Linked DNA regions of Homo sapiens: region 1 is linked to region 2. Evidence: promoter capture Hi-C in 16 types of primary human blood cells and fetal thymus (Javierre and others, 2016). All regions are on one chromosome and are shown on one strand. The core of a region is centred on a gene start or on the middle of the fragment in contact, and the rest is flanking DNA. Distances in the headings are between cores, read along the strand shown. Region 1 has its middle 200 kb from the start of LINC00973. Region 2 holds the start of CMSS1 (cms1 ribosomal small subunit homolog).

Evidence for each region. The method cuts DNA at HindIII sites, captures the fragments that hold promoters and counts their contacts. A CHiCAGO score of 5 or more calls a contact.
Region 1: a contact is called between a fragment that was not itself captured here and the fragment with the promoter of CMSS1 in region 2, in 1 of 17 cell types (endothelial precursors). The highest score is 6.0, in endothelial precursors.

What each region holds. Positions count from the first base shown.
Region 1 is chr3:99,115,775-99,118,491 of GRCh38, reverse strand. No RefSeq gene overlaps it. Among named protein-coding and RNA genes, the nearest start is that of LINC00973, 200 kb to the right of the region's middle. The HindIII fragment of the contact is 1,373 bases long and covers 658-2,030 here.
Region 2 is chr3:99,816,277-99,819,342 of GRCh38, reverse strand. CMSS1 (cms1 ribosomal small subunit homolog) reads right to left here and starts at 1,481. Exons shown (of 10, transcript NM_032359.4): 1 at 1,300-1,481. The coding sequence starts at 1,363. It overlaps HP09053 (a long non-coding RNA gene), which reads left to right. Exons shown (of 3, transcript NR_110821.1): 2 at 369-423; 3 at 871-2,711. LOC105374010 (a long non-coding RNA gene) reads right to left here and starts at 1,481. Exons shown (of 5, transcript NR_189163.1): 1 at 1,300-1,481. RefSeq lists enhancers at 1,215-1,524, 756-1,630 and a silencer at 1,046-1,800. The HindIII fragment of the contact is 550 bases long and covers 1,070-1,619 here.

The sequences.
Region 1 (2,717 bases), core at 95-2,594, 700 kb after region 2:
TGTTTGGTCACAGTTTTGTGGGCTCAAACCCAAGACACTACTACAGGAGAATATTGGAGTGCAGATGTCCATCCTCCACCTCTTCAGTTCTTAAGATTGATTTCCCCTGAAACTGCAGAACCAGTGTGGTCCTCTCCTAATATTCATTCCTTCTCCCCTCCAATTTGATTAAGTAAATCAAATTGGGCTATAGAACGCTGATCTCCAAGTAAGGTGGATTAAATCTGATTAGTGTAGCATAACCAACTCTTCTGAAGTGATAGGTCCAGAATAGGCTCTCAATTTTATAGGAATATTTAATTCAGATTTTCCTTGCCGGGAGAAAAAGAGAACATGAACATCCCCTCAAAACTCTTTCCAGGAATGTTATAAAATATTGTACTATCCAACTCTTTAATCAAATGATAGTAGCATTCAAAACATCCTGTACTTCAACATTTTTGTCTAGATCTTTGCCTATGTTACCCAAATGACACCCTTTTTACAAATTCAGTGCAGTGTAGGGGACCACTCTATAGAGCCAGGACACAGACTTTCCATCCAAAAGCCACAACTGTGGGGGGTAGGGGGGTGGGGGGTCATGAAGACATTTCTGACCAGAACTACTAAGTGCTGACCTAATAGCCTTTTTCCCCACCTTCCTCACAAACAGAAGCTTGATTGTATGCCTGGCAATGTATCCAGCTTACACAGTACATTTTCCAGGTTTCCTTGAAGCCAGGGGTGAACAAGGTACTTAAGTGAATATCTGAGAAATTTTGAAGGAGCACTGACTCAGTTAAGAGAGGGAACTTCTCACCCTTTTTCCTTCTCCTCCTTCTTCCTTCCTATTGCCCAAAACTCAGATGTAATCACCGATACTCCAGCAGCCATTTTAGACCAGAAGGAGATCTTGAAGTTAAAACTAATGTTTTAGCTCAGGCTGCCTTAATAAAATGCCACAGACAGGGTGGCTTAAACAACAGATATTTATTTTCTCACAGTCCTGGAGGCTCAAAGTCTGAGATCAGGTGTCAGCATGGTTGGTTTCTGGTGAGGCATCTCTTCCTGGCTTGTAGGCATCTGCTACCACACTGTTTGCCCATGTCTTTTTCTTTGTGAACTCAAGAATTCAGGGCAGAGATGGGTAAGAGAGGGTTTTCTGATGCCTCTCTTCTGATAAAAACAATAAACTAATCTTAGCATATCAGGGCCTATCTTGGTCAGTTTGAGCTATTATAACAAGATACCATAGAGTAGATGGTTTAAACAACATAAAATTATTTCTCACAGTTCTGGAGGCTGGAAGTTCAGGAGCAAGATACTGGCAGATCCAATGTCTGTTTAGGGCCCTCTTCCTGGTTTCCTAACGAGAGTAGGGGAAGCAAACTCTTTCCTGTCTCTTTGTATAAAGGCATTAAACCCATTCACATAGGGTTCTACTCTCATAACTAATTACCTCCCAAAGGTCCTGTCTCTAAATATTATCACATTAAGAATTAGACTTTCAACATACAAATGGGGTAGTGGGGACAGACATTTAGTTCATGGCATGACCTCACCCTTATGACCTAATTTAACTGCCTCCACAAAGTTTCTATCTCCAGATATAGTCACATCGGGGGGTTAGGACTCTGAGCACATAATTCAGTCTACAGAAGATGGGTAGCAGAGTTTCTCTTGTGACACTGATGCCAACATTGAGCCAATATACAGCCTTAGATTGCCTGTCTCTAAATATCCTTTATATGAGGAAAAAGAAAAATTCTTCTATCTTGCTGAGTCATAGAGTTTCTATAGATTCAAACCTAATCCTATATAATACAATATATATTCATTTATTCATTCAACAAAAATATTTGAGAATGTACTATGTCTTGGATACCATGCTGAGTACTAAGAACTGAGAATAACAAGACAAATCAGATTGATCCCTTGGCTCTAATGAGCTCATGGTTTTATGAAGGAGACAAACATGAATAGGTAATTCACATTTTTAGTGTTCTATAATGATCAGAAAGAAAAAGTGAACAAAGTTCTCAAATAAAGCTTAGCCTGAAAGTTTGGGAAAACCTACTCAAAAGTAGGATTTGAACCTATTCTTGAAGGATGCATGGAATTTCAGCAATTTGGAGGTTGAGTGTTCTCGACATAGAAAACAGTAAAAGCCAAGGAATGGAGGCATGGAAGAGTAAGGAATGTTCATTGGAGAGTGGGAATGTTTCTGTAATTAGCGAAAGATGATGGGGGTGGGAGAGGTACCTAACAAAGAAGCTGGAAAAGTAACTGGTGGCAATTGCCTTATTATACCATATTTAGATTTTGGGGATTTACTCTATGGTGATAAAACACATTGTAGATTTTCTACGCAGTGATGTTAAGGAGCAATATTATTAGATTTACATTTTAAGAAGATGATTATGCAGGTAGACTGGGATCAGGGAGACTGGGTAGAGGATGATTATAATAATACTGATGGGATATGATGAGGATATAAACAAGGCTAAGGGACAATAGTTAACTCATTCATTTCAGTTCTAACCTACCTTGTCAAATGAGTTGCTAATCATCTTCAGATTAGCTTGCACGGGCCAGTAGACTCCAACCCAGAAATGTAGCATAAGTTCTTACCGCATTAAATAGCAGCTCTTGAAAAATGGTCTCAGCTGCTATCATTTAAGTGTCATTAAGTGCATGTAGAAAGAGGACATCACTAAGATGGTAAAATAGAAGGTAAC
Region 2 (3,066 bases), core at 232-2,731:
ACTATTTCTTAAATGGCCTCTGTTCATCTTCAATCATATCATAAAATAGAGCTTTTTAACACCTGAGTTGGGAGGGGTAGTTATTAAAGTAAATGTGGAACACCACAGGGCTGCAAAAGAGTCAGGAAGTTTAATCAAGGAAATGTTGTATTGGCTACCTTTCTAAAAATGACATCTGCTTAGTTTGTACCTGAAGGCTTGACCTTCCGGAAACAATGCAACAAATGAAGTTGGTTATTTTTAATGGATATTTCACAACTAGTATTTCAAGATTGTTTGCAGCAAATAGGTATCAAGTGTCTAACATGTGCAGGGCCCTGTGGATGACAGAAGTATGAATCTGACTTTGGCCCTGTCTTCTCTTGTAGAGAAAAGAGGCAGACCTTGAGGAGTGATAAAAACCAACCAACCAATAATTGCATGGTAGGTGTGATGGAACTTAAAAAGTTCAAGGCTAGCCTGACATGGGGGGTCACTTAACGCTACTCTACTTGGGGATGAAATGCCCACTGCATCAGGAGTTGGTAAACACAGCAGAGCATAGTAGAAACTATTCAAATTGTGTTAACTGAATTCTAGTATTGTTTCTGAAAGGAGCTAGCTTTGTGAACTTGTCAAGTTACTTGACATCTTTAGGTTATGTTTCTCATCTGTAAAATAAGTGAGTTCAAAGGATGATCTCTATTTAAGCCTCCTTCCAGTTCTACTATTCCAAATTCCATGATAATGATGATGACCACAAGAAATACAGTAACTTATATTTACCACACATTATATGTCAAGCACTATGCTAAAGTGCATTACTGTACTAACTTCACTTAATCTTCACAACTTTACGAAATGGACATTATTGTTATCATTATTTTACAGATGAGGAAAAGGAGGCTAAACAGTATCAGAATACTGGAGTCGTGATTTGAATGGAGGGAGTCTGAAGCAGCAACCCCTGCTTCTGACCTCAGTCTGAATTGAAAGCAGTTCATGGGTCACCCTTAACCATCATACAAAGTTGCCTCTCTTCACAAAAACTGTCTTATCCATTCTCAAGAAATAAGGAAAAGAGAAAGCTTGTGGAAAGGATCCTTCCTGGCTGGCAGACAGATCTGAGTTAATGTCACAGCTGTCTGTTTCACGTGTTAAAGAATCTCTTGCACCATTTTCCCCGAGATGCTTGCGCGCTCCCAAGGCGGTGCACACCCCTGCTGGGCAAACACCGCGATCGCCAGAAGCGACCAGGGCTGAGGCGCACGGAAGGGCTCCGGGAGAGGCCCCGTAGGAGCGCGGGCACAGAGTGGGTACCTGGGCTGCTGCCTGCTCCAGTCGGCTGGTTCTCCCACCACTCGTCTCCGAGATCGTCTGCCATTTCAGCTCAGGTCTCGACGTGGGCAGAACATCACGGGTAGGCGACCAGCTGCGGAGAATCACGTTGTCTCAAAGCCAGGCGGCCGGCGTAGCTACACGCGGAGCTCCCGCTAGACACTGTCGCCTCCGCCCCGCGGCGATGACGTCACACCTCTGCCCCGCCTCTCCGGCAGCCGCTCCCAGACTCGTCGCAGTTTCCACACAGGCGCCGACAGGCAGAAGCAGTTTGGAAACGCAACATAAATCCCCCCAAAGCTTAAAGACAAAAAGGAACATAAGACGAAAGGGATTGTCATCGTTTTTGATAATGCATTTTAAAAAATTTTGTTTACGTGTTACGTTTCCCGATAAGATTGTGTCGAAAGTGTGAGACACCATGTGAAGACGATTTTTCTCCGCTCAGTTTCAAAGAACTTGCGCAGCGGGAGAAGACCCAAACATGTGCGTGTGTTTTCGCTTGTGCGTCAGTGTTTCAGAGTTTATGTGTTTGTACAGTTTGCTCTTAGAAAACATGCGCAAGGATCCATGACCATGAATGTCGGGCCTTTGTGGTAAATGTAGTTCTGCTATTTATGCAATATGAGTAAAGAAAATGTAATTGGCCTGGAAAGGCTCGCCCACAGAAAGACGCAAGTGGCTCGAAGACCCGCAAGTTGTTTTCCTCATACTCCCTCGGTTGTGTGTCCCACCCCCTATTTGGGAAACGAAGTAATAAGGGAGTCCATTGCTTCGTAACTATAGGTAAGAGACCCGCAGTGCCTCTTGTCTCAGTCCCAACGTGATTTGGCAGGGAGGGACTAGGAAAACCCGCTGGGCGCCAAGTGCTGGGGCTAGCTGTGAAGTAATTGTGGACGGTATTTTTCAGGACATCAAACACAGACGTAAAAATTATACAAAATGTAGTAAAAGCACGCAACGTGCCTGGTACTATGCATGGAATAGTAAGATGAGTCCATTCAGATGTTAGCCTACAGTAGTGGAAATTCAATTTGTAGGAATAAAGGGCTAGACTTCTAATAGGATACATCCTCGGAAATGACAAGACAGGGAAACTTAATCTGATGAGGCTAGGATTAGCCATATGTGGAAAATTACCCCGTGTGCACCCAACTCATAGATGTTTTATAAATGCATTACTGCCTAGACTTTGTCCGCACACTCTAAATGCCCCAAAAGGGAAGATATTATGTATAAATATGGCAAATGTAAAATAATCTATAAAGATCAAAAGTAATATGGCTTTTGTGAAGAAATGTAGATGACGAGATTTTCGTGATTAATAGATTTTTGAAAAAGATAAGAAATGCCAGTGTGGAAGAGGAGTTGCTATGGCTAATAAACATGAAAAGAATTCAGTCTGATTATTAATCTGGGAAATACAAAAAAAACACCACAGCGAGACCGTTTTTCAGGCAATAAATCACAAAATTAAGAAGTATGGGCCGGGCGCGGTGGCTCAAGCCTGTAATCCCAACGCTTTGGGAGGCCGAGGTGGGTGAATCACCTGAGGTCAAGAATTCCAGACCAGCCTGGCCAAAATGGCGAAACCCATCTCTACTAAAAATACAAAAATTAGCCGGGCATGGTGGCAGGCGCCTGTAATTCCAGCTACTTGAGAGTCTGAGGTAGGCGAATTGCTTAAACCCGGGAAGTGGAGGTTGCGGTGAGCCGAGATGGTGCCATTACACTCCAGCCTGGTTGACA